Regions from separate parts of the Homo sapiens genome. Here regions 1, 2, 3, 4, 6 and 7 are each linked to region 5. The links are contacts of gene promoters, found by promoter capture Hi-C in blood cells and fetal thymus (Javierre and others, 2016). All regions are on one chromosome and are shown on one strand. Each heading gives the region's core, a stretch centred on a gene start or on the middle of the fragment in contact. The rest is flanking DNA. Distances are from core to core; before and after follow the strand shown.

Region 1 (3,157 bases), core at 456-2,955, 1.3 Mb after region 5:
GAGAAACGGGGCATTCAGATTCTTTCCCCATGCTGACTCTTCATTCTGTTTACACATGGGCCGGCCAGATGCTAGAGAAAAAAAAACAAACATTTGCAGCTGTTATCAGGGGTAGGATAGAGCACATGAGGTTCCCAAGTTTTGATCCAACACATCAGAACACACTTGATTTTTACTCTGGCTTGGAGTTTACTGCCTTCAGCTTCTTCTACAAAGCCTGAATGTTGCCATTTCATGTCAAAACCTGCACTGAGAGATGCCGATGGCTTCTTGAGCTAACTTCAGCCCATCACCGCAGTGGTCTAGATGACCAAGGAAGTGACTGCTTCATTACAGCTTGAGGGGACCCTCTTTCTTCATCCCCCACTTTCACTTTTTTTTTTTTTTTAAATGAAAAGGCCGATGGTTCTCCCAAGTAGCCAGAGGCCAGCAGGAGCACTAAGTAAGAGACAGCAAGAAGTGTTCTTAGTGAGAACAATGTGGACTTTGGAGTTATGTAAAACCCAATTTTAATCCTGGCCCAGCCATTGACTGGCAGTTTGATTTTGAGTTATTTAAGTTGGAACCTTATTTTTCTTGCTTATTTATTGAACTATTAATTGAAAAAGTGATTCTAGTCCTAGACCCCTATTTGACAGCTAGAGAAATGAGACATGAACTGATACATGCTCAGATAAATACATTTCTTACTCAGAGGATAATAGTCAATGATTAATAGTTTCCACTGAGACATCACAAATAAGAAATAGATTGAAATTACATTTGAAGGATCTAGGTTAGATATCAAAAACTTCCTTGGAAGGGAGCATCATGAAACCTCTATTTCTTAGAAATCTTTAAGAATATAATAGTCACACATGTTGAATGAGTTTAAATGAAGCATTACTTACCAGGATAGACGACCTCTCTAGTTTTTCCCCAGTTAAAAAATCCAAGACTTGGGTTCCTTCTTTCAAGAGGAGTAATGTAAAAAGTCTGACCCCTAGTGGTCATCGTCTCTGCATTGGACCTAAGGGAAAAAGGCCAAAAAGAATGATAACAACCAGACTTTGTTTTGGAATTAAAAACGAACCTTAGAAATGTGAGAGTCAAATTGTCTAATTCTAAAACAAGGGAACTTAGACCAAATGACTACAAATATTTCCCCAACACCAGCGACTCTGGAGTAAAGCTTGTTATGGAACTCAGGACCTTTTGCTGGTGCTCTGGGTTCAAGATCCAATCGCTTCATCTTCCAGAGTCTCCCACCTGGAATCAGCCTCTTGGTGACATAGAAACAGCAGGTATATGCTGATTCGACTTTCAGGGCACAGGATTCAGTCCGCATTCTTTCCTTTTCTTTCGTGATGAGGAGCACTTAATTGTTCAGTAGATGTAACTCTCTCTCAGGTAACCAACCTAAGTTCTCCATTCCCTTTGTACATTCTGACAGATGCTCATAGCATGCTAAGTGCTCATGGGTGGTAGGCTGCTTTCTAGTTTCCTGATGTCTGTCTTCTCCCATTAATCAAATCTGATGCATACAAAGAACCAGCTGATTTTTTCCTCAAACCCGTTTATGCTACTTTTATTAGTAAATGCAATTATATAATTTAAATATTATGCAAATAGATGAAATATAAGTATAAAAATAAAGAGACTGTGTCCATAAAAATTAAATTGATTGCTTTGGAAAGGCTCAAGAGGGAAGAATTGCTGAAAAAATGATCTAAAATTAGTTTGTGGATGAGATAACTGTAGAAGAATAACACAAAGATTAAAATCCAGAATAATTGTGCAAGTTTCTAAGGTTTTTATCTGCTACAAAGAACAAAAGAAAAGAAAACAAAAACAAAAATACCTGAAACTTCAACTAATAGAGGATGCATGATGGGAGTGATTTATTCAAGAAAAATGAGATGGAGCTTCACAAATGGAAAATGTGCACTTAAAGAGAGGCCTTGGCTCTACCTACTGGCAAGTGAAAGTCTTAAGTTAAAATATATGTATTTATATGATTCCTAGCTTTAGCCAAAATTTCTGATTAGCTGACACTGAACTGTAATAGGTGAAAGTATTTCTTTAGTATTAAGATTCAGATATCAGAGTGAGATCCAGGAAAACTGGTTTACTTAATATCTCCTGAGTGCTAATCTCCTGAGGATTTGGTCTTTCAACAATTCCTGTAAGATCCGTTTTTATTTCCATAAGTCTCCTTTTTGCAGGCACTTTCCGCAGATCCTTTTCCCCTTGACAGTAAGTAAGCTTTGTCTCTGAACTAGGCCCCAAGAATTCAGCTTTCAAACCCTCTGTTAAATTAATGTTTGTTCACTTTAGCAATTCAGTAATAGTCACTCAGGATCTAGAACAAGATCCAATGTTTGATGTCTTAAGATTTGAACAGTGTAGGGCCATATGTGGACACTATCAATATTACATCTTGCTTTTTCAAAATGTAAAAGCCATAAACATGGACACACTCGTTGTAGCCTTGTCTTCTGGGGAATGCATGTTATAGAAATAATATGCTGTGCAAAGATGTTCATTGCAGCATTATGTGTAATAGCAAATACACTAGAAGCAACTTAAATATTTAGCAACAAGGTAATCATTTTATTGTGATATTTTAGCCAAATACACTAGAAGCAACTTAAATATTTAGCAACAAGGTAATCATTTTATTGTGATATTTTGGCCAAGTATCATTTGGTGGTTATTGCTCGTCACTCATGTAGTAATTACAATGACTCTGTTGGAATGAAGGAAAAAAGTCCAAAAAAATAAGAACAGGCCAGACTTTGTTTTTGGAATTAGAAATGAACCTTGAAAATTTCATAGTCAAATTCTGTAATTCTAAAATATAACTATTATCAATAAGGAAAATTGTTCATGATAGTATTTTAAGTGAAGAAAGAAAAATACAAAATGGAATGAACTTCACAATTACCAACTTTGTAAATAAAGGTATGAAATGTATGAACGGGGAAAGATTTAAGGCTTTACCTTTTGCTAATTTTTCTTTTCTGTTTTATTCTTTCGATGATTGTAAAACCCCACATTATGCAATAATTCACCAGTTTTTCAACACTGGCATCCTGGGAGGCCTTGAGGTGCCTGGGATTTGACTTAAAGTTGGCTAGAACCACAGGATCACCCCTCTAGAGGAGTGAGGATTAGG
Region 2 (2,830 bases), core at 18-2,517, 1.3 Mb after region 5:
GGCCATGTCCAACTTCGAGAGGTGGATTAGTGGAATCCTTCATGTACTCAGAAGTAGAGCATATCTAGATATTGGTGAACAATTGCAATACTTACCCTATGGACCCCAAAGTCCTATGGACTTCTGACTGACTGACTATTCAGTTGGAGTTAAATGACTAAGGAAGGTAAGTATGATGCCCCTATCATCTTAGAACACATGAGTCAGTACTAAGAAAAATGTTCGCTCTCTCTTTCTGCTTTTTCTATTACTTTGATTACTATGCTTGAGAAAGCCTAACAAAAATGATGCTATTCCTTTACATTTTGCTCAGCATTGTAGATGAGCTATTAGTCTTTTATATAATGTCGCCTCTGAGTTAGAAATCTAGTGTTGAAGCTAATAGTAGGGTACTGTTTATGCAGCTTACCATACAGGGTTGCTGTGAACCTCAAGGGAAATAATGGTTATAAAAGGGCTGGATATACTTTAATAAATTCAACAAATAGTTTAAGGTGTTGTTATTGTTATTTCTTTCATTGAGCTTTCATTAGGAGCATCTCAGGATGACTTTTCAGCTGAAATCAAATTGGCTGATTCTTCAGTGGGCAAAACCCTCATTTTCAGACAATCTAAAGGCCTTTCTTATCAGTAGATTCTCCTAAGCATTTATGAGTGTAACAGGATGGAATAGGCCTGGGGTAGAAGGTAAGGGTGCTCAGGACTAGTCTGTGATAAAAATGGGGTTCCAATGGAAAAATAAGGCAGCCTATAGTATAAATGTGAGCCCGCTGAGGTCTGCTGTGTGATTCTCTTTAATAACAGAGTTGAGAGGTGTTAATGAGCATGACACAGGGCACACAGCCATCGAGTGAATTAGTCATAGCTTGATTCTTTTTTGTGCCTCGTCTAATGGCAAACATTACCCAGCAATCACAGCAGTATCACTCAGATGGAGCAGAAGGTGTGGAAGGGTGTAATGAGGCTGCCTAAAAACTGTTTTACAGAGCCCTGCACCAATTCACAACAGATAATAGAACTCAGAGCCAGACAGATAATAGAAGCGACAGCCATTTATTGCTAAGAGACTGTCTGAATATTTGTGCATAAAGCAGCCCACTCCAAGTTCTTTAATCACATTTCTTGAGAAAGAGTGGCAAAATGGAAAGCCACGTGTCAGGCTACTTCCATTAGTGTGTTCTAAATCAGTATAAAGAGGAATAAGCAGATACGAAGAAAAAGAACACTGAAGAAGACTGCAGATCAGAAACAGCTTCTGGCTGTTTGAATTCAGCAAATTGGGACATCTTCTCCATGTGACTAGGACAGAGTATTGGAAAATAATTTTATCCTAAAGTAATCTGATATTTAGGATTGTTGAAAAATATCTTAGTTTACAATTCTTCTTTGATTCCTAAAAGAGAGAATGGCTCACCCAGACCCCATTTTTTCTTACTTCATACCTAGACTTTGGCACTTTTTTAGTATTGTGGATAGTGAATGGAAACATGTCGTAAAGTTCTAGAAGATGGAATTCATACTTTTCCGTAAGTTTTTTTTTTTAAAGACCAACAATCTTATCTTCTTCCAAGACGATCCCAAAAAGATTTAAAAGGAAATTTAATCATATTACAAGGTATCTCCTAATAGAAAATGAAATTTGGAAACATGGTTTTTCATATTTTTTCCTTGGCAACCATGTTCTGCTATGGTGCCACATTTTAAGAGGGACATTAACTAGATGACATGTATTCCAGATAACATGTCTAAAATGTCACTGGAATATAAAACCATATCATTTTAAAATGTTTGAAGGGCCTAAAGAATTTAACATAAAGAGGACAGAGAGTGCATAGCTTGGCAATAGTATTCAAATAGCAGATATCTATTCCTCCTGTGAAAGAAGAACTGTATGTTCTGTAGGACTTAAGGGAGTAAAAAAGAAAGACTAAATTAAAGTTAGAGTAGGTCCCTTCACCTGATTACAGGGAATGATTTGCAGTGTTTAGAGCTGTCCAGAAATTGAATGAGCTGTCTAGAAATTGAATAAACTGTCCAGACCAGTGAGCTCCTTGTCAGTGGATGTGTTCAAGCAGAAGCTAAGTAACCACTTGCTAGAGATATTTTAAAGAGTTAAGACGGAGAGTTGTCTTAATTGATGTGATATCCACTTGAACCCAGGGTGTCTGTGATATTAGTTATTATTAGTCTCCTCAGGGAGGTTCTTGATGCATTGTAACCTGGGGCTCAGGAGTTGAGCAAGGATGAATAAATTGAACTTTAAAGGCTAAGTTTGAAATATTTTTTCTTATCTTCTGAAGTCAGAAAGATTTCAATGTTTATATTATTATGACTGTAAAAGCAAGGTTTATTGTTAAGATAAATAATAAATTATGATTGCTTGAGTTTTTATACAGTTCTTTGTTTTCCCTGAAGTCAATAGTTGCCTTGTTTATTAATTTTTCTTATTTTTAAATACATATAACTAATTTGTTTCCAGATGTTCTGTTTTATAAAATACTCTGCATTATTATTTTATACACAACCAAATGCACTAAATCATCCATCAAGTGCATGTAGCAATTGGTACCCAACTGTTAGTTATATATCCAACATCCATTGTCCTTTTTTCTTTTACTAATGGGAGCCGCATACAAGCTTAAGGTAACAATATGTCCAGCTTTAGAAATCATTTCCTAGCCTTTCTTGCAGCAAATATGTCCATAAGATACAGCCTTCTAAAGAAGATGTAAATAGCTGTCTACTGGGGTTTAGGGACAGGTCCTTTCCTGTTAAAGGCATTGCCTATTTCTCCTTATTACCACCACCATCACATCCTCTTCTTCATCCT
Region 3 (2,996 bases), core at 457-2,956, 1.4 Mb after region 5:
CTCAAATATTCTGGCTCTAGAGAGGATATTACTACCATGTCTCTCCTCTCTCTATCTCTTAAAAGTCTTTGTGTTGGGGGTTTCAACCTTGGTCATCCTTTTCATTCCACACACTTTTTCCAAATGTCCTGCTCATGTGCTCCTATATTCAGTTAACACCCAATTCTGTAATTTTAGTGTTATTGTAGAAAACATTCCCCTGGCCTTTCTTTGGCCTCAGTTTCCTCATCTGTGAAATGAGAGTAATGATAGTTTCTACCTCCTAGGGCTGTATGTAGTAAGCAAATGTATATAAAAAGCTGACTTTTTATCTATCTCCAGAGCCAGCTTCTTATTCACCATCTACATTTCCACTCAAATGGCCCACAGGCATCTCACACACAACATGTACCAAGCTGCATTCACCATGCCTCACATGTTCCAATATTGGTGGCTTTTCCCTCTTATCCATCCAATTTCCTTGTGAATAGTTTTCTTCTTCTTTCTCAGCCCTACATGTTACCTGTCTCTAAGTTGTGTTCCATCAGTTCTAGTATGTAAATTGACTCTATTGCCTAAATTCAGGCCCTCATCCCTTCACGTCTGAATAATTGCCATGTTTTCCTACCTGGAATCCCTCCCTGTTCCTACTTTTTATAGCTTTAAGAGATAATTAATTTTTTTAAAAAAGAAGGAATCAGACGATGTTCATTCTGTTTGTTTTAAATTCTTCCATGGTTCCCCAAAGCTTTTAGGATAAAGTTCAAATTTCTTTGTTTATTAATTTTTTTAAAACTTTATCTTGCTTTTGTGCTTCATCATGTTAATATTTCTTGCCATTTTTCCTAACACTTATTTTGCCCAATCATGGGGAACTTCTGGTAGGTCCTCAAACGCCAGGGTCTACCAAAGCTCATTGCACTTGTAAATGCTGATTTTTCTGTTCATCTCTCCTTGCTCTGGCTAACTTCCTCTTAAACTTGTCTCAGCTCAGGTGTCATCTTTTGCAGAAATATATTTTTCTTGATGCCTGTGGTTTATTTTGGTGCTTCGTCTGTAATTCCAGAGCACCTGGTACCTATTTCTGCCAATCAATTAACTCTCCACATCATGATTCTCAACTTTACTTTGCCTCCAAATACCTAGAGCCAGGGTGGCAAACAGCAGCCCAGTGACCAAAGTCATCCTGCCACTTGTTTTTGTAAATAAAGTTTTATTGGAACAGAAGCATGCCCATTCAGTGTGCTCTATGGCTGATTTTGGATAAAAAGAGCAGAGTTTAATTGTTGTAACAGAGTCTATGTATCCCCCAAAGCTAAAATATTTACTATTTGACCTTTTGCAGAAAATGTTTGCAGTCCCCTTTCATCTATTACTGTGCATCACTATTACAAAATTCTTAGCCAGAGATGCCAGACCCTGAGGGAGAAAGTGGATCAAGATCTTGCAGAGGAGGAGTGTCAAGGGAAAACTAGAGTTGGATGATTCAGATACATACCCTAGGGGATCATGTTCCTTCCCTACACCACGGACAATCATTCCATGTGTCCTTATGAAATATTTCTTATATATCATGAGACAGAGACTGTATGTTTTTTAATCTTTTGGCTTACATGCCTAACATGGTGACAGACTATTAGAAGTAAAAATAAGCCAGAAAACAACCCCCAAAAGCCAAGCTCACACCAAAAGAATTTTTTGAAGGATACTGGGATATAATCAGGGGGTCTAAGAAAGAGGTGAACACCCAGTTCTTGAAAAGACACAGCAATGATGTGGAGTAATGATTGTTATCAGGATCCAGCCTCTGTCTTGTGTCTCTGCTGTTTCTCATCATGTCAGCTTCATCTTTCCCTTTCACCGTGGACTTCCTCTAGCTGGCAAAAATCACGGCCCATCACAGTTCCTGAGTTTTTCATTTTATAGTTTTCAGTCATTGATGAGCCTTTATCCTGACTTTGTCTTAGTCCCATATTCCAAAATACTAAGTCAGTTTACCATTGATGTGGTCAAGGAAGAGGGGTTAGGTGAGAAAACAGAAATGTTAGTGATACTTATGGATAGACTAAAGATAGAGGATGAGCCAAGAACGAAAGAGGTACTGTTCCCAGAATAAGGGAGAGCTACATAGACAAGGCAGTAGGTGTCCCCATGGTAGCTCCTGGTAGATGCCCCCCAACAGTAGCACTTAGGAGGTGCTTAACTGATGTATGTTGACTCAATAAATAAAGAAAGAAATTAACCTCTTTGAGCCTCTTCTGTGAGATGAGAATAGCATCTACCTCACAGGCTTGTACTGACGATAGAGCACTAACCACAGTGCTTGACAGGCGTAGATATTCAGTAAATGCAACCTAAATATCCTAGCACTCATCTGGGTTGGAATTGCAAAGGGAAATTAAGGGAGAATTTATTACAGCAGATTATCTTTTAAAATTCAATCAGCATGATTATCCAATAAAATTTTAATCAAACTCTATGTCCCATCTTGTCTTCTAATCAGACTTAAGTCAACATAAATATTAGCCCAGGACTCTCACTTGGCTCAGTCTGAGTTGGCGCATTCCCTAAGGGAAACTGTAGGGTGTCAGAAGAAAGCCCCGATTTGTACCTATAAGAGACTATATTTACTTGTTCAGAAGACGAACAGAAACTGGAGATTAAGAACCCTCGGTCTACTAGATCAATGTCTACTGTTTCACGAGTTAAGCTTTAGCTTCCCTGTTAACCAGACTAGCTCACACAACATATACCCACCTGAACTATTAATGTGTGCATTTTCTTGGATGTGCCTCCTTCCTTTGGACAGTATTGCTCTTTGTCTCATATTTAAAATGCCTTCCTCTGCCCTGTTACCTTCATCTGCATAACTCCTCAACCTTCAGGGTCTCCTCTGGCTCCATAATTTTACTGACCCATCCCCATCAGCTTTGAAAAATCATAATTCAAGTTTTTCCAAGACCTGATACAGAACACTTTGGCACAAGCCAGGTACCTGGGTCCTTCTACTCTAATTC
Region 4 (2,973 bases), core at 122-2,621, 1.4 Mb after region 5:
ATGAAGGAAGAGAACAGGATTCTAGTAGAAAATTAGATGGGGCCCTGACTGGAGAAGTCAATGGGATATGAAGGATTTCTCCTCCAAGTGGTATTTAAGTGGAGACCTGAGAGATAAATTGCAATAAGGATGACAAAGATGGAGACAAGCACCTGTTCAAAGACCTGAAAGAGGGACCAAGTTTAAGGAGTCTGAGGAACTGGGGGAAACAGGGTGACAGAAAGGGGGTGGTCAGGAATGTCTTTGCTGAGCAGGTGGCTCCACTAAGGAAGACTTAGAATGTGCAGAGGAAAGACAGGTCATTTCGGGCAGGACGGGCAGCACGTACAGAGGACGCGTCCAGGTCTGGGAGAAGCTCCTTCCATCTTCGTGGTGATGCGAGGTGGTGGTGAGATGTTCAGGGAATGTGCAGAAATGGAGAGGAAAGCTGGGCCAGGTCATAAATGGCTTTATAAACTACACCAAGGGATTGATTATACCTGCAGACCCCACAAAAGCACTGAAGATATGCTAGATTGTCTTCATTTTCTTTTTTTAAAACCCATATCCCATGCTTGTGAGTAAGGAGAGGGTAGAGGCATGCCTTCTGTATCTCTAGATCCTACCCCCTGCCCCCATTTTCAACGATGGGTGGTTCAGTTAAATTCTATCTCCTCCTTGTCACTTTGTTCCCAGCTCTGATTTGTGATCTGTGGAAGCTTTCATTTTGCCATTCTCTGATTCTTGTTGTAGTGACCTTGTGCTACAGTCTCTTGATATGAGTGAGGGGTCAGCAGCTTCTGAAGACCAAAGAGACTCTAACTCAACCCTGCATGGTGCTTGCAACCTGTTCCTGCATTCTGACAGGAAGGTTTCACCCAAAGGTGTGAAGGATGAATCACCCCATGATGCAGATTATTTTCGGCTGCCAGTTGGCCATCTCTTACTGAGATCACAGAAACCAGAGGCTTGTGAGACTGTTTAGCCCAGTGCTCAGGCTCAGTGGAGAAACTCATTAGCTCTATTTAATTAGAGAAAGCAAACACTTCCAAACCTACTTTAATGTCAGCCTACTTCCCACCACCTCATTAATATATTTTTAAAAACTTTCACCTTTAATGTGGCAATGATTTTCTTAATTCTTTCAGTATTAGAACTCCATAGATTTAAGGCATTTAGCTAGAGAACAAGTAGAAAGATTATACAAGTGATAGTCATGATTCTTTGAACCAGTATCTTTTGGTATTACTAAATAAGAGATTTTTAAACTCGATTTTCATGTATAACCTAGATGAAGGTTGTTGTTCTGGTTTAATCCTATAATATTGCAATTTTTAGGATCATCTTTTTTTTATATAGGATTTTACATTTTCCAAAAGGTTTTACATCCATCAGATGATTCCCACAAAACACTGAAACAAAGTAGGAGCCGCTGGTAATATCTCCATTCTCCAGATGAGGAAGTCTGGGCTGAGAGCAGTCAAAGGATTTCTCCGAATGACATCTATATGCTTCAAGGTTGACAATGAGGACACAAGTTTCAGGCCCAAGTGGCTTGAGATACTGCCTGTCGATGATAAATAAGGAAGTTAGGAGGAGAAGATGGTTGTCTGAGAAAAGTGACAAACTCAGAGTAGGATGTTCTAAATTGCAGCTGACTAGAGAGCTGGAAGCTGGATGCATATTTGTATGGCTCTGTCATACAAAAGCTGCTCCAATACTGTGTGAGTATGGTCTCCTCAACCTGGAGGGGGCCAACATTTTTCTTGAGTCAGAATCTTTTCCAGGTAGCCTGAGAACCCACATTAGGAAGTAACCTCTTAATTCATCCTAGACACCTCTTTGTAATCCCTTGGTCTTTTACTCAGGCTGACCCCAACCCAGACTTAGGTGTAGGTGACACTGATTTCATAACATGTTTTCATATGTTTTACCACAATTGATTCCCACAGCACTCCTGTGAGATTTGGATTCTGGTCTCTGTCAAATCTACTGGAAAATGGGACCCTGTTAAGATGCAGGCTTTTCCAGTAGGAAACAGCTAATGGTGGAAGACTGGGGGCTTGAAGCTTGGGCCTCTCTCTCCAATAGCGTGACTTATTCAATCATTTCCGGTGAAACTCCCCCAGACACTTTGCTTTCCTCTTCCATTTCCTCTCTGTGTAGCTTCCTACTTTAGGATCTTCAGGAACTCTTCCCACAGTCTAATGACCAGATCTGCTTTCTGGAAACATTCTCATGTCAGTCATACATGTTTTACTACGATTTTAAAACTTTGAGTTATCTCTGTTAAGAGTATACATATTCTCATTATTGTCTTCTCCTTGCTCACTATAACAAATACTTCTTGAGCCCTTGCTATGCTCTTGACACTGGGAGTACAATGATGAACAAGCAGACATCACCTACATCCTCCTGGATTCAATATGGTTGTGGCAAGAAAGCTTTGTTTCCTATAAGTGGACTTCAGAGATCCACATAACTTATAGGCAACCATTTGTTCCTGCAATTTCAAGGTATTTTTAACCTTTAATTGTGGGTTTAGGAATATTTAGCCAAATACTCCTCCAGGTGACATATAGGCAATGAAGAGGAAACAGTACATAAAATAGTGATGTGACTTCACATTTCGAAACAAAGAGGCAGGTGGTTCTGCTGTCAAACTGAGCATTAAAATATAACTGGGGGTGTAGGTGTGGGAGTTTCTCAATAGCCCTGGAAACAGCTAATATTTTGGTAGATTCACAGGATTTTCTCTTTTAATAAAGGGGATTACTTGCATCTTATCACAGGACTAAACAGTGAAGCCAGGAAATAGTATGAGTTTCCTACTGGTTTTTGCTGAAATTTTGGAACAGATCATTACACAACTGATTCATGGGTATTTTGAAGAAAAGACACTGATCACTAGAAGTTAATAGGAGTTTACCATAAACAGGTTGTGTTAGACACACCCCATTTCCTTTTCTTATTACGCCACACAACTGGTAAATC
Region 5 (3,061 bases), core at 281-2,780:
ATACACGTGAACAACCCAGCCTTTGTGTCCATGTTCTGGCTACATCTCCAGAGCACAGCCACTTACTGGCCTCTCTTGAATCCAAGGACACAGGAAAAAGGCCTGCACAGACACTACAGATGGACTTGAGGTAGTCTGGGGAGGAATTTCTGTAGTCCCAGTCCCCAATCATGATCTAAAAGGAGGAAAGGCATGTGGACTTTAGACGGCCTCGTCCCCTTGGCCTCAAGGACTCTTTGCCCTGTGGTAGATGTGCAGCTCCTATAAAGAGTGGGACCCTGGGCTCTAAGTTCCTAAAGAAAGTTTTGCTCAAAGCTAAATCTTTTTATCACAGGTGCATAGATAATAGAGCTAGAGTGGATTGGATCTATTATCTAAGACCAACCCCCTCATTTTGTAAATATAAAAACTGAGAGCCAGAAAGGGAAACAGACTTGCCAAGTTTACAAGGCTACTTAGCTATATAGAGCCAGTTCGTAGCACACAGCAGGTGGTCAATAAATGTTTATGTATTCAGATCAAATTGGATTAATTCACTAAACATATCTAGGAACAGAGCATAGCTGTACCCCCTGCATTCCCCCAACTCCTAGATTAAAACTTTCCCCAATGGACCTCATGGCCTCCTTCCTTCAGTTCCAACTCACTCTAAATGTCAGAGATTGCAGGGACATAGATGATATTACAGCTCTTCATTTAATGTGGACAACTAAGACCCAAAGATGGAACATAACTTTCTCAGGGTCACCCAGGGAGTTAGTGGTATTGCTAGGATTAAAAGCAAGAACTCTCTGACCCAGCCGGCTGTCTTTGTCTTTTTCCCCATCTGAGCTGACACCAGAATAAGCCCGCGACTGGGCTCTGTCTCTCCTTGGAAAGTACCCCACAGCTGTGACCCAGGGGCTGTCTGCAAGGTCCCTCCCCACTGAACCTCTCACCTGCCTGAGGCGTGCTGCTCCAGGTACTGCTTCCAGCCAGGGGCCAGCTCACTGGGCTTGAGGTTGGGGTCTATGATGAGCTCCCAGCTGTCCGCTGGCTTTGCCACCTCCATCTTCTCATAGAAGACTTTCTTCCACTCACAAGTGGTCAAGCTGGTACACATGGTCCTGCTGGCAGAGGTGGCAGTTCGAGCTCAGCCCTGGTGAGAACACAGAAAGAGCACGGATAGGTACGGGACAATTCAGTGTCTACGGTCAGAATCCTCATCGGCAGGACTGGGAGTAAACAGGACCCAGCTCCCTCCTCTGTTACCCTGGAACCTGTTACCATGGTAGCCAGGCAGGGCACCAAGAGTGAGGGCTGGGGAGAAGGGAAGCCCCAAGGGGGAGTTTCAGGGCCCTGAGTTAGGCTTCAGAGGCAGCGCTGGGTAGGCCTGAGAGGAGCAAGCACAGTGGGAGGCCCAACCTCAGACCACACTCATCTGGATTTCCAGAGGTCTCCAGGAGGCAAGGACTATTTGGTGGCCCTGCTTCACCCAACTGCTCTTCTAGCATTCTCCACATCATGTGCTATGGTAAGTACGACACCCTAGGAAGTCAAGGAGAAATGAGGGACAGGGAAAGGCAGAGCCTGCTGCTTCCACACCCCCTGATATGCTGTGACCATCACTTACCATGTGCCTAGCACAAACCGCTTGACCTGTGTGCTGGCCAAAGCAGATCAGATCAGGAAACTGAAGTTTATGCAACCCCTAAGTGGCTCATCCAAGATTCAGATCTAGGCCTTCTGAAACCGAGCTCATTTGTTTATTTATTTTAGTACTATTGTGCTCCTAACAGGGAATTGAGTGAGAAGTAACATCTCTTTGCCCAGGGCAATCTTAGACCAGTTGGTGAGCTAGAATGTAATTTCATATGCCATGCAAAGCACAGTAATAACATTTCAGATTCATAGCGTCATAGAACTGTTAGAGCCCATATTCAGTTCCTGGTCCCAAGCCAGGCTAAGGTGGCTGCTGGGGTAATGAGTTTGTTCTGTGCTGCAGGCTCCTGCTGCCTCCATTACTGCTGAGCTGGAGCAAGAGAGCATCCGTAGCTCTGTGATGCCCAATTCAAATTCTTTAGAAACCAGAGGGGAATCTGACTTCAAATTTGGTAATCCAAGTGAAGACACGGTTACCTGAAGGGAGGCTGCCTTGAGCATGGAAAAGACCAGGCATATGGCTGCTTACCCTAGCTTTGGTCCAACTTCCAACTGTAATCATCTTACGATTCTTTAACCCGGAAGTCTGGATCCCTAGACACGCAGAGTTCCAACAGTAAAGAGCTTCAAGAAGTGAAACAGGTTGCTAAGAACCGGAAGCTCTTGGTGTTGAGTTGCCAAGTGGTTTTCAGGAAGTGTGAAGTCAGGGACAATGTCACTGGATTCTCTCTTGAAATGAAAAGTGTTACTCTAGCGGCTTTGTGCTAAAGACCTCAGAAAGGACACAATTGTCTTTGAACCATTGACTGACAGCTCTAGAAGAGCTCTTTTATTTTTAAAAATCTGGTTTATTTCTTGAACTCTTCATTTCTTAACCAAAATTTATTGACATTGAATTAAAACAACTGAGGCCTGGAAATGGAAAATTACTGGCCCAGGCTCTCAGGACTGGGTAGCTCAAACCTCACTGGGGATTCCCTTAGAAGCCAGTTACCAGACCAGGTGAGACAGAGGGATCCATGAATGGCCAGGAACTGAACGAAGCTGAGATGAGCTTATGGCCTGGCCTAGACCCTCGTGCCAGGAAAGAACCTCTGAGAAATAGTATACCCTTGTTCCCAGAACAAATGGCAATAAAGGAAAAACAGAAAGAGGATGAGAATTGTCAGGGTTTACCTGTATTTTCTTTTTTCCTCAAATAATGCAATCCCCTTAGGCCTAGTATCAGGTTTAATTTAGCATAGCAGCTTCTAAGCAGAGACCAATAGAATTCATCTTTCTGTGTAACAGCACTGTTTTCACTTTTCATACAATCAGTGAGCACAATTACTACTTCAATTTTCCGCGAATGACACTATCTTATTCCAGAACCCACGATTTAAGAGCTCACAAATGTATATTGTGTACAGCTGTGGCCACA
Region 6 (2,956 bases), core at 44-2,543, 1.5 Mb after region 5:
GGTCAATTGAAGTGATTTGTTCCAATTGGATCAGCAGGTTAAGGCCAAGATTAGATTTGATTCCTTCTTCCCTCTTCCTCTATTATAGAACCCAGCAGGTCATACCTTATCCCCAAAAGCCAAAAGAAGTGAAAAGCCTTTCTGAACCGTTAAATGGCAAACAAAAGGTGATTATTTCTTTGCAGGCAGTTTGAGAGGGTTATTTTTGAATTCATCTGAGGGAAATTTCATAATAATATATAGGTCCCATCAAACAGGGCTGTTTTTAGAGAACAAACGAGGGCATGTATGTAAAGGGGAGTTGTAAACTGAAAGGTGATAGGCAAATGAGACAGCGATGACTACTTGGCGCCTGAGACATCCTCCAGATCTCTGTATAAGCAGGTTTTAATTCGGGGCTAAATGACACTCTCCAAATGTCAGAGGCAGCGTAGTGAGGCACAGATCATACAGGCCCTGGGGAAATATTTTAGCTTTTCAGTCACACTGTGGTATGTAGAAAAGCAAATCTCAATGGGGGAAAAACACCCCCAAATCCTTTCAAATACACTCATGCAATTTCCTCTCTTGTGACAGCTATCATAGTATCTCATTGTTCTACAGTTTTAAGGAAATCTCATCTTCAGTTATTATGTAGTTTACTTTTTAAGATGCTAATTTTAGCTATCATTTTTCTTTTCATGCTCAAAAGGTTATATCATTCTTAGTTGTGGAAGGAAATGTTTCCTCTGTGTGTGTGTGCATGTGTGTATGTGTGTGTGTGTCTGTTTGAGTTTATTATGACAGTACTGATAGTCATCCCTTGGGGCCACCACAAATGCATTGGGTTGTAATGCTATATAATCTTTGGCAGACTTCTATATATTCTTTTTCTTTCTTTTCTTCTTCTTTTTTTTTTTTTTTGAGACAGAGCCTTGCTCTGTTGCCCAGGCTGGAGGGTAGTGGCGCGATCTCGGCTCACTGCAGCCTCCACCTCCCGGGTTCAAGCGATTCTCCTGCCTCAGCCTCCTGAGTAGCTGGGATTACAGGCATGCACCACCACACCTGGCTAGTTTTTGTATTTTTAGTAGAGACGGGGTTTCACCATGTTGGTCAGGCTGGAACTTCTATATATTCTTGGTGTCTTTCTGGCTGTAAGGATCCTGAAGAAATCGTTTAATTGATTACTTTATTCAAAACAGAGAAACTGAGGCCCAGAAAGATGAAGTGATATGCACAAGTCACACAGCCAGTATCATTGGAGCTGCAAGTCACATATGGGTCTCTTACTCTTTCATTGCCCACAATATGTAGTGAATGGTGCTAGGAGTCCCAAGCAGAAGCATTAGCCATGTCATTTTGGAGACTGTAACTAGATGTCCTTTAAGATTTCTTCCAATTAAGAGTTTTAGGGCACTTTGACCTTTGCTTAGCATCTACTGGAGATGGTATCATGCCCTTTAGAGCAGGGAAATCTGTCAGAGAAGCCTCTCTCTTTATTGACTTGGTTCTTCTGGAATATTTGCTTCGGCCAAATGTTGGAGCTGCTCCTTAGGTATAAGATGGGGAGATGGGCAAGAGGTGGTGGCATCTTCATTTTCTTCAGCCTGTCTGGATTTTTATATTTTCTGGGATCTTCCTAAATAAGTGCCACTCAGTTTGATCCTTTTAAAACTTGAAGTGATAGTTGATATTTTACTCAACATTGTTTAATCTAATGGCAGCGTCAAGTCCGAGAATTCATTTACTCCAGAGCTTGCAGAGCAGCAGCCACAGGTGAATCCAGCATGCAGATGTGCTTTGTTTGTGCTGCCATGTTAAACAAGATAAAACTAGTTCCAAAGTATTTGATATCTAGGAAATTTCCTGTAAAAAATCCAGATATCTTGTTTTCAGGAAGATCAGGAGATCTGATAATAATGGACCCACATCCCCTCATGGATAACACCTGTGCTGGGGCCGGGCAGCAACTTCTTCCTGTAGATAGAACATGTTTTCCCCCATCCTCCACAGCTCCCATTTTACCTGATTTAGGCTACCAAGTGTTTGAATTTTCCACTTCTGATCTCTTCCAATCTCTTAGGTATTAGGATTCCTTTCAATCATTCTCTTTCAACGGAAACCTAGTTCTACATAATGACAGACCAGGCTACAGGTTAATGGCACCAGGGAAGAGGTGAAGTTAATTATTTGTTCCTAACCTCTCACTATGTAAGAGATATAGGATATATGATGACTTCAGTAGAACATACCGTTGGCTCTGATACCTACCCAGGATATTTTCTTCAGCTAGCTATCAAAACTCAGTGACTTGAATGCTAAAGTATTAAGCAAGATGACACTGCTGCAGCATAATATTTAGATGCCTATAAAAGAATAGGAAGGACAGTTGATACTTGCAGGGTAATCCTCTTTACTCAATCGATCAATGGCATAAAAACAAGAAAAGAAATTATGATGTATGATAGCACATAGATAGCAATATAATGCCCTGTTTCCAAAGAATCCAAATTGCTGAAATACTAGAGACTAGCTTAATGATATGTTTTCTCTTATTCACCCACTAATATAATAATCACCTTTTGATCACCTATGGTGTATTATACAACCCTAAGCTTAGGGATTTAGGGGTAAAGAGTAGAGACCCTTTCTCAAAGGGGCTTACCATCTAGTATTGAAAATGTGTACACAAGTAACTATAATGCAAGACAGAATATGATAAATATTTCAAGACGAAGAAGAAAGCAAATATTGAGGTCTCACGAAGAAGAGATTTATGGCAACTAGGTAGGTTGCCATCAGAGATAATTGTAAGGATGAAATGGCACTCGAACTGGGCTTTGGCTCAATAGACGTGAGAAGAGTTTTCAACAAGAGAAGAGTTTAAGTAAACTCCCAAGTCAATACTATTTGAAGTATATTTGAAGGGTAGGAAGCATTTACTACAGCTCAATATAGGGCCAGTGGAACTGAAGTG
Region 7 (3,151 bases), core at 345-2,844, 1.3 Mb after region 5:
ATCCCCAAGGCAATAACCCAAGGAAGGCAGTGGTGACCCCAGAGACAGGCATATCTGGTGGTTTTGGAAGTTCAGAGGCAGGAGAAGTAACTTCAGCTGGGCGTTCATGGAGTGCTTCCTGGGGTAGGTTTCATTTAACTTAGATCTTTTCATTTAAGTTAGATCTTAAAAAGACACAAATTAACCTGGCAAAATGAGTGAGGGAGGCAGGCACAGCTCCAAGAAGGACTCAAGCTTCGTGTGCTAATGTCTACATCATTTGCTGATTACTATGGTTCCTCACTCAGAGCTTGAATAATTTTAGTTTACACAAACTGTTAATAAACTTGGCTACCTATAGATATATACAAGACCCAAAACAGCACATTTGATGAGGAAGAATGGGTTACAATAGGCAGGCCTACTAAAAAGGAAGACAAGTACAAGGTTGATGACTTGATAAGAAGAGAGGAGACAGAAAACAAGATAAACAGAACCCCTGCCGCGAATCCTCAGTCACTTAAAAATCACAGCAATCCGGATCGAGTGTGGAGTCAAGAGGTGCTTTAAATTTAGAGAGTCCTCTAGAATGTCATCATATATTATATTGCAGTGAAGAAAGTGACAGCCTACAGTGTGCCCCCTTGTGAAAGGCTAAATTATTTTCTTTATGCTTTGTCTTAGAAGATAGACAAATGCATAATCGATTTTAGAAATAGTTCCATCCTAATTGAGTTACAATGGAGTTTGTATTTAAACCATAAACCTTCAGTATTTGGAATGCTGCTCATCAGAGAAGAAATAATTTGGTTTGACTTTTAATAAATTCCAAAGTTCTGTGGATCACATTATGTCATACACTCTCATCCAAACTCCTGCTTATCGCGTCTATGCCTCCTCCACTCCTAAGGTTTCTTTTGCTTCTTCCTTGACTGAGGCTTTCTGCAACTCCCCTCTGGAGTCTGGCGCACGGAGCTCCTGCTGATGCTTCTTCTTCTGCATTTCCAATGTGCCAGTGAGGGGGCAGTGGGAGAAACTCTGAGGCAGGGGCTACTTGGATATGGGTCTTGGCTTCCAACCTAAAAGTTGGAAATTTTAGAAAAGTCCCTTCCCCTCTCTGAGCCCCTGTTTTCCCATTCAGAAAATAAGAATAATAACCCTTATTCGTGGAGCTATTGTGAAAAAAAAGGCATGAATGCATGTGAGCATGCTTAGTAAACTGGGCAGTGGTTCCATTCTCAATTCATGCAGAGCAATTATAACTACCCCCTCCCCTAGTTGTCATTTGCATGTGGACCTTTCTCTTTCCCTTGCTTGGTAATTGACTTGAGACTGTGTTTTCCCTGGTTTTTGTTTTGTGTTTGGTATCTCCCTGAGAAAAGCCTGTTTTGGGCTCTGCAGGTCATGTGTGTTGTGTGACCCTGGAGGAGGGACACTATTCATAGCTGATAATGTGAATAGGGTCCTCCACGGTTCTGTGATGTAGGGGTCCTGGCCATAGGGCCTAGCGTGCTGCTGTCTCTGTATGTATTAAACATTAGTGACTCTTTTTCTGTCCTTAATACTTAAGCCCTGTCCTGAGGCATAAAATATTACTGTGTACTGACCCTGAATTGAAAATTTTGCACTGTATTATTCAGCTTCAGGCCTAGCTTTCAATTTCCCATTTCATTTTCGACTGGACTACACTGGTCATTGCCTTGAGAGATTTTTCCCAGCCACAGAAGTCTTCTGGTGAAGACGGTCTTTAGACTGGCAGGGTTTCAAAGTAAATATAAGTAAAATAATTGGCAAGTCTGATATTTAGGCTTTGGTGTTTTAATCCCCAATTCTTTTGACACTGGGCACATCTCAACAGCCAGGCTTGGAAGTGGTGGTGGGGGAGAAGGACATCACAGCGTATTTCTGCTGCACTCTCCTCTTTCCACTCTCATCTGTATAAAGTCTTTGCAGCATCTGTGAAATATTGTGGTCTAACTGCTATTCGATTCTTGGTGGACTTCCGTTTCTTCCTCTGTGCACTGGGACTAATCATACCCACATCTGAGGGTTGCTAAGGAGTGACATGAGATGCTATGTGTATGCCTCCAGGCACAGAGCCAGACCCCTGTTAGGTGCTCACAAAAGCAATAGGTGAACATGAAACCATGGTGACAAACAGCCTGCTTCTCCTCTTCTCTGACAATGCTTGTCTAGATTGGGGAGCTCTGACATAAAACTTTCTGTCTTACAATGAGAGAACAATCTATCTATGTGTAACTTCCATCTATGAGACCCCTGGGCGAGGATGGTGTGTCTTCCCCTTTTCTTAGCGTTCTCACTCTGTCCCGTAGTGAGGACGGACAACAGAGAGCTGCTGTGGTCAGCGAGCCGAGGAGCCAGACAAGGCTCTGTGGTTACGTACTTATTTAGTTTCTTATTTATTACTTTTGCAGTTAACATTTTTTACAATCATGTTATTTTGTGGTTTATTTGCAAAATGCATTGTGAGCCAAGTTTGCTTCAAATGTGCTCTGAGTCAGAAAATGGTTACATAGGGGACCCAGAGAGATGGGAGGGGAGGGTAAAGAGCAGCTGCAAGAACATCATATAATAGATATATCAGTTATTGCTCCTTGCTTTGTAATTAGGCTACTCAAGGTAGACGGAGAAATGGAAACAATGCATAATAGGCTCATGTGCGGCAGCGTGAACAGACTCTTCTGCCTCAGAAGTCAAATGCAAAGGGGCCAGCCTGGGACTTGGGGAAGAGAACCCTGGAGAGAGCTTCACTCCTGCTTAACCACCCATGAGCACCAAAGCAGCATCTTTGAAAATCTTTGGGAGACAACAGTAGAGCTTGGTTAGAGAGGCAAAAGTGACGGATAATGAATTAACTCATAAATACTATTAGAGGGTTTATTATAAATTGTTTTTGAAGATTTTAATAGAAACGAAAACCTAGTTTTCAGAGATTAGCTGAAATAAGTCCCAAGAGAAGCTTTGCCAGAAGCCGCTTTTCCTTTTAACTCTCTGTTCTTCCTTTCTCACCCCCCCAGGCAATGGTAGATTCCTAAGAGGACGCCTGTTGTTGGTGAAGCCCATTTTGACTGTGTTCAAGTTTGTTCTTGTATTATTCCATCTGGTGGCTCCCCAAACCGCTTTCTTTTTTTACTCTCCTTGTAAATATTTA

The links. The method cuts DNA at HindIII sites, captures the fragments that hold promoters and counts their contacts. A CHiCAGO score of 5 or more calls a contact.
Region 1: a fragment that was not itself captured here is called in contact with the fragment with the promoter of RTP2 in region 5 in 12 of 17 cell types (total B cells, naive B cells, non-activated CD4 T cells and 9 more); the score reaches 16.3 in total B cells.
Region 2: a contact is called between a fragment that was not itself captured here and the fragment with the promoter of RTP2 in region 5, in 4 of 17 cell types (total B cells, naive B cells, fetal thymus and 1 more). The highest score is 9.8, in total B cells.
Region 3: a contact is called between a fragment that was not itself captured here and the fragment with the promoter of RTP2 in region 5, in 1 of 17 cell types (total B cells). The highest score is 5.5, in total B cells.
Region 4: a fragment that was not itself captured here is called in contact with the fragment with the promoter of RTP2 in region 5 in 2 of 17 cell types (naive B cells and endothelial precursors); the score reaches 7.7 in naive B cells.
Region 6: a fragment that was not itself captured here is called in contact with the fragment with the promoter of RTP2 in region 5 in 6 of 17 cell types (total B cells, endothelial precursors, monocytes and 3 more); the score reaches 9.4 in total B cells.
Region 7: a contact is called between a fragment that was not itself captured here and the fragment with the promoter of RTP2 in region 5, in 7 of 17 cell types (total B cells, naive B cells, monocytes and 4 more). The highest score is 16.3, in total B cells.

The regions. Positions count from the first base shown.
Region 1 is chr3:188,956,050-188,959,206 of GRCh38, forward strand. No RefSeq gene overlaps it. Among named protein-coding and RNA genes, the nearest start is that of TPRG1-AS1, 10 kb to the left of the region's middle. RefSeq lists an enhancer at 1,101-1,635 and a silencer at 1,151-1,445. The HindIII fragment of the contact is 1,073 bases long and covers 1,170-2,242 here.
Region 2 is chr3:188,992,468-188,995,297 of GRCh38, forward strand. No RefSeq gene overlaps it. Among named protein-coding and RNA genes, the nearest start is that of TPRG1-AS1, 46 kb to the left of the region's middle. The HindIII fragment of the contact is 2,736 bases long and covers 1-2,635 here.
Region 3 is chr3:189,102,001-189,104,996 of GRCh38, forward strand. It overlaps a transcript of TPRG1 not described here. Among named protein-coding and RNA genes, the nearest start is that of TPRG1, 68 kb to the right of the region's middle. The HindIII fragment of the contact is 1,962 bases long and covers 726-2,687 here.
Region 4 is chr3:189,141,837-189,144,809 of GRCh38, forward strand. It overlaps a transcript of TPRG1 not described here. Among named protein-coding and RNA genes, the nearest start is that of TPRG1, 29 kb to the right of the region's middle. The HindIII fragment of the contact is 1,350 bases long and covers 697-2,046 here.
Region 5 is chr3:187,701,027-187,704,087 of GRCh38, forward strand. It overlaps RTP2 (receptor transporter protein 2), which reads right to left and starts at 1,531. Exons shown (of 2, transcript NM_001004312.2): 1 at 939-1,531. The coding sequence starts at 1,102. It overlaps LOC100131635 (hCG1645011-like), which reads left to right and starts at 1,340. Exons shown (of 3, transcript NR_034062.1): 1 at 1,340-1,513. The HindIII fragment of the contact is 5,389 bases long and covers 1-3,061 here.
Region 6 is chr3:189,172,455-189,175,410 of GRCh38, forward strand. The region is part of intron 1 of TPRG1 (tumor protein p63 regulated 1); the gene reads left to right. Among named protein-coding and RNA genes, the nearest start is that of TPRG1, 2.0 kb to the left of the region's middle. The HindIII fragment of the contact is 2,597 bases long and covers 1-2,592 here.
Region 7 is chr3:188,973,038-188,976,188 of GRCh38, forward strand. No RefSeq gene overlaps it. Among named protein-coding and RNA genes, the nearest start is that of TPRG1-AS1, 27 kb to the left of the region's middle. The HindIII fragment of the contact is 2,725 bases long and covers 233-2,957 here.